Regions from separate parts of the Homo sapiens genome. Here region 2 is linked to region 1. Evidence: promoter capture Hi-C in 16 types of primary human blood cells and fetal thymus (Javierre and others, 2016). All regions are on one chromosome and are shown on one strand. Each heading gives the region's core, a stretch centred on a gene start or on the middle of the fragment in contact. The rest is flanking DNA. Distances are from core to core; before and after follow the strand shown.

What was found. Contacts are between HindIII fragments. The CHiCAGO score rates a contact against its expected background, and 5 or more counts as called.
Region 2: a fragment that was not itself captured here is called in contact with the fragment with the promoter of ITGA2 in region 1 in 1 of 17 cell types (endothelial precursors); the score reaches 5.1 in endothelial precursors.

The regions. Positions count from the first base shown.
Region 1 is chr5:52,987,950-52,990,990 of GRCh38, reverse strand. It overlaps ITGA2 (integrin subunit alpha 2), which reads right to left and starts at 1,639. Exons shown (of 30, transcript NM_002203.4): 1 at 1,459-1,639. The coding sequence starts at 1,522. It overlaps ITGA2-AS1 (ITGA2 antisense RNA 1), which reads left to right and starts at 705. Exons shown (of 4, transcript NR_186583.1): 1 at 705-901; 2 at 2,715-2,787. RefSeq lists a silencer at 1,686-1,835 and an enhancer at 2,300-3,041. The HindIII fragment of the contact is 2,612 bases long and covers 57-2,668 here.
Region 2 is chr5:52,726,778-52,729,696 of GRCh38, reverse strand. All of the region lies in intron 2 of PELO-AS1 (PELO antisense RNA 1), which reads left to right. Among named protein-coding and RNA genes, the nearest start is that of ITGA1, 60 kb to the left of the region's middle. The HindIII fragment of the contact is 879 bases long and covers 1,088-1,966 here.

The DNA.
Region 1 (3,041 bases), core at 390-2,889:
TGTTATGTTTCCACAGCTTATTTTAATACTGGGTAATTACAGAGAGATGAAAAGCTTGGGTTTATATTTCTATTAGCTCTAGTTGTATTCCAGAGACTCATTTTCAATGTCAAGTACAACTTTACCTGAAATCCGTAGATTAGGGTTGGTGGCCCCTCAAAACAACTCATCTGGTTCCCGGAGAAAGTATCTGAAGCACCCAATACAGGTGAGACAGAAAACCTAAGATGCCCATTCTCTGCTCGGGCTGGGGACAGTGGTGCTATTTCTCTCTTATCTCTGACCTGGAGAAAATGCCACCAGGTTGACGTGGACTAGGATTCATTCCTCCACAATAAAGAATAGCAAGTGGCTGAATGTCAGTCTCAAAGGAGGACAGCTTAGGAAATATTTATCTTCTTTGTAAAAAAAAAAAAAAAAAACCACACACACACTTTAAAATCAGAGACAACTTTTTTGTTTTGTTTTGATCGCTGTTCAAACTACATTATACAAACGTGTCTCCTTCTCCCTCCAAATAAACTAAAATTCTTAAATTTGACCACACTCTAGCTCTGCCTAATGGTCAGGGAAAAAGTACTCAGGCGATGGTCCCACAAAAGCTCTCCACCCCAGCCTTATTTCCTCCTCTTAGTGTAAAAGAACTCAGGAGGTGGGCGGGCCCCACTGCCACAGCACTACAGTTAGAGCGGCTGCTCCGGCTTATTCTCTCATTGCGGCATCTAGGATCCAGAAGTGAAAAGAACTTTTCCTAGCCTAAGTTTACATTCGTCGAATAGACAATGTTACAACAATAAGAGGAAGGCAGAAGGGAAGGAAGAATTCCCCTCTGCCAAGTATTTAAGTGGCGCTTGGTTTATTCCAAGTCCCCCCGGGAAGAAACACAGCGCTTCGTCCTCAAGTAAGAAATAGAGGCATTATTCACATCCTTGGGTTGAAAAATAAGCATTTTGGGGCTCGCAGGCTTCTGCAAAGCCAGCAAGCACCGCGCTGGGGAGCTGCAGGCCGCCATCAGCAATGGATTCCGGATTTCCCTGGTCTCTGGCAGGCGCGGCACCTGTCTGAGCCAGGGGAAGTTGGGCTGCAGGACTCGCGGTCTCCAGGACACCCGCGGATCCCCACACTGTCCATGCTTGAGTGCGTGCGTGTCTGTCTGTGTGTGTGTGTGTGTGTGTGCGTGTGTGTACCTAAAACAAAGCACTCACTGAGATGACTTTGGAGGGTGCTTAACAGACAGGGCGAGACGCGCCTAATGGGGACGCAAGGCCTGGGATAGCAGGAAGGGAACGAAGAAGTATCTCTTTCCAAGCAGGTCCTGGTGGCTGGGAGCCCGAGTCCACGTGGAATCCGAGGGAACACACGGAGCTCGCTCCCTAGTTCCGCCCAATCCCTCCAGCGAGCCCCAGGAAGCCGCGCGGGTCCCTCCTGCAGCCGATGCAGAGCGAAATCCCCGCTTACCTTGACTGAGCGCTAACACCAGCAGCAGCGGCAGCGGCGCGGCCCCTGTCCGTTCTGGCCCCATCCTGGGTCTGACCGGGGGACCGTAGTTGCGCTGGGTTTGCAGAGGTTTGCAGAGGATACCCTTGGCCGAGGGATACGAGAACCTGCACACTCTAGAAGCTGTCCAGAGGGCTTCTCTCCCCCGCCCGGTGAGAGCAGGGAAAAGTTTCTGGGCAGCTCCTGCAGCGCCGAGGGCCCGCCCCAGCCCGCCCCTCCTGATTCCGCAAACACCGGATCTGCTCCGGCCGCGCCCCGCCCCACCCCGGCCCTGCGGCCCCGCGGGCTGCACCTCGGCTCGTCCACACGCGGGGCACCGCACCTTGGCTCCCGTACAGCGGCCCAGCCCCGGCAGCCTGGAGGCGGTGGGGATGGGGATGGCGCCCTGGCAGGCTTTCCTGCCCTGGACGGGACGGGTGGGCATATCCGACGGGCGAGCGCCCGCCCTGGCACCACTCCGCCCCCGCAGCCTGTCGCCAGCACGCAGGAGATGCCCCAGTCCCCGGGAGAACGTGGCCCCTCCGCAGCCCTTGGCAGCGCCCGGCTCCTGGCAGCGGGTGCCGAGGGCACTAGCCCTAAACCACAGTGCCTAGGGGCTGCGCGGTGCGTCCCTTTCTCTGTTTTTCCTAAGTGGGTGGAGAAAGGGACAAAAATAAGCGCAGAATGACCAGGTTAGAAACTAACTCATCAGGAAAGAAGATCTGCTCACAAGTTATGATTATCCAAGGTGATATTTAAGCAATACCTGCTGCAAGAGCTGTGTGTGTGTGTGTGTGTGTGACAGAGAGACAGAGAGAGAGAAATCATCATTACTTCCTCTCCTCCGAGATAATTAAGAGCTGATTTAATGACTGAGTTTAGGAGATTAACTTCAAGGCCAGAGAAAAGGCTGAGAGCCCATACATGCACTTGTGACTCTCCCTGTCTACATTACACCATGACATAGACTGTGACCATTTTCTTCCATTATTTCAGTCTCACATCTGGAAAGAGAACATTCTATATCCGAGATTTTTAGTTAAAAACCTAAGAAATAGGATATTAATTTTTCTTGTCTGAATCTTATGTTTTATCCAAAAGTTTGGCCACAAATTTCCAGCACATTGCTGAAACCAGAATTCTTCCAGTGACTACTTTTGTGAAGGAACGAACTGTTTTCATAAATCAAGCTTAAGGAGTTATGAGTCTAATAATCATCATTATTGTCATCATTCCAGATCTTCATGGAATGCTACTATGAGCTGAATGGGATGCCTGAGATACTGCCTCTAGGAAGCAAAGTGGCTCAAGGTGGGAAGGACTTAATAATTCATAAAAATCAAGCTCTTCTCTTTACTATAGATAGGGCTGATGTGTCACATTGTTAAAGTATTAAATTGGTATGCATCAGATGTTGCTGCTGATGGCTTATGACTAATACCCTTTGAACCCAAATTATATAGTCCCAGGCTCTTTCCTGTTTTCTTATCAGTCACTTACTGGCTGCACTTACTCACCTTGACAAACACCTGAAGGCATTTTTTTCTGAATTGTCTGGGGTACTC
Region 2 (2,919 bases), core at 278-2,777, 260 kb after region 1:
CCCAGCTACTCAGGAGGCTGAGGCAGGAGAATGGTGTGAACCCGGGAGGCAGAGCTTGCAGTGAGAGCAAGATTTCATCTCAAAAAAAAAAAAAAAGAAGAAGAAAATACAACTGAACTGTACTTTAAACAGTAAGGGACTTTGCATTCACAGGCAGTTTCCAAGAAGCAGAAAATACTACACATTTATCTGTTTGCCTGGGTTTTATCATGTGGTAAATGCAAGATAAATAACAGCTGTCACAGATGAGCAGGACTAATGCTAAAAAACTAGTGCCATGTATGATAGTGCGTGTGTGCATGCTCACTACTAGACAAGTTGGTAAAATTGCAAGTTAACATATTAGGTTGAAGCACATGTTATTACCAATATTACTGGTCAAAAGAAGTAGAGTGTTTGGCTGTTTCATTTGGTTGAAGCTTAGGTCTTTCAGAACCAAAAAGGGTCTCATAAATAATTCAATCCATGGGTTTTTTAACTGGGTCGAGTATGGGTCCACTTCAAGGAGATGAGGAGCCCTCATCTATGTATTCATTCAGTTGATAGTTTTCCAGAGCTTATGATGTTCCAAGTAATGCTCTAGTAGCTGGGGATATAGACAGGAAAACACAGAGTCCTTTGCCCTCATTCATATTTCATTTCAGTGGGAAGGCCTGACAATAAATATATACTAGGAAGTCATTACTGAATTGAATGCAGTTTTACGTCTTGTGTTCATTTATACATTTTTCTGGAGGGAGAGTTCATTGAATTCATGGAAATGGTTTATGATCACCAAAAATTAGAACCACTAACCTATCACACTCTGCCAATTTTGACGGGAAACCAAAGTACAAACACTGAGTGATTTGCCCATCACCGTGTAGTTCATTCATGGCTAACTTAAGATTGAAACGCAGGTGTCCTGGTGTTCAGTCATTATTGCACATTGTAGGGGAAATAATCTGTGACTTTTCCTTTCCTTTCTATATTTATTTTCTTTTTAACAATACCTGCATACTTTTGACGCTCAACAAATTCATGTCGAGAGCTGGGAATCTGGTCAGACAGATTGTAGTCCTAACTTCGTTATTACAGAGTATAAGCTTTGTGATTCTAGAAAATTGTTTAAAACTCTGAGCTGCAGCTTCCACATCTAGATTGATGCGAGTAAATTGTAACTGACAGATTATTGTGAGGATTAAATGAGATTTCTTATACACACACTGTGTATGTGCACATACACAGTGTATGCACATACACATACATATTATTTGGCTAACAGCCTTTCGCCTGATAAGCATGTGAGTCATTACTATTATAACCCTTTTTATAAGTCTGTTCTTTGGTGCCGGGTCTCCAGCTTCTAAAAAATTCACTCCCTTTCACCAAACTGTGATTCAAATAGCAGCTTGGAGCTCTTGTTTAATTCTGGGAAGACCCAAGGGGCAGTAGTAACTAACTACTACAAAGTACAGACCTTAAACTCTGGAGCTTGGCTGCCTGGGTTCAAATTTTGGCTCTACTCTTTGTCTTTTTATGTGTTGTCTGAATTTTTCATAATAAGCATGTGGTAGTTTTTCTACTAAAAAAAAAAACAAGCTATTTTCACTTTAAAAAACAACAACAACAACATATGGATCTATTTTTTGGTGACTTGCCATTTCTGTTCCTTTGAAATTCATCCTGTGTCTTTGGAAGACTAGGATATGTGGCTCTCCCTGCCTTAAAGGGATCCTGATTGATCTTCTCTGGTGGCAAGAAAGCTCAGCCTCCTCCTTCCTGCAGGATAAAGGAGTGGCTTGGAAAAGTGGTCAGATCGGAAGGCCCTCGAGACCAGCTCCCTTTCCCACAGCCCTTCAGTGTCTGACTCAGAGGGAAACTGGCGCTGTTCTCTGGTATCCTCTCTCCTTTCGTCTCCACACCTAGTGTGCCAGCGTTGTTCTCCAAACAAAGAACAGACCATGTAAATTCTGTGACCGAAGCTTCATTGATATGAAGGAGAAACAATTGCCAGACCTATTCTGGCCTTCTGTAAACAAAACTTTTTTTTAGAGAAAGCTTGCATGCCATTTTTAGAGAAAGTTATTGTATGCCAGAAATTAGACAGTGAGGGAAAGGCCAAATTCCTGGTGATATTTATCTTGCTATTCTGTTCCCTTCAGGAACTATCTCTCTATCTCAGGATAATTTTTTTGTTTGTTCTAAGAATTATATTGTGTATGAAACTCTGTGCATGCACAAAGATAAATAATTTTCTTTTTTATTATTACAGATAGAGAAAAATTTGAAATCCTTGACAGTTTCATTTTCACAAAATTAAACTGAAGTAAATCATACATTATATAAATAATGTTAATTGATCTTGCTGATAGCATATGGAAAAACTTGGTTTGCACTTTTCCTAAACTAAAGATAATTGCTTTGACAAAGATGAAAAATATTGCATAAGAAACATTTAATCTCTTGTCAGGATCTGGGTAGCCTTATAAGGCTCTGAGATGGTGTGCTGGGGAAGATATCAAAGAGATGAACAGCACAAGTGAGCAGGCAGTAAAAAGCTCAATGGCAGAGAGAACTCCAAGGACTTAAAAATATGTACTCAGACATAAGCTTATAATGCAAGTTATCTATATTGTTGAGCAAAATGGATATGTATATTTTGTATTATGTAAGTCCTTTTGTTTTTCAAAGAAGAGACACTCTCAGATTTCCTTAGATCTATTCCCCTCAAACTTTCCCACTGAAGTATTCCTAAATGGGAGAGGAGTAACAATGGATACTTTTCAACGTGTCAAAGAGTGGTGGGTTTTGGATTTAGAAGAGACCAATATCACCATAAGATCAGACTCTAAGACCAGGGAAATAGAAACTAGAAAGGATCTTGTCACTTTATTGCATTAAATAGACATGAAAGAAGGAAGAAGGATGAGGTATATC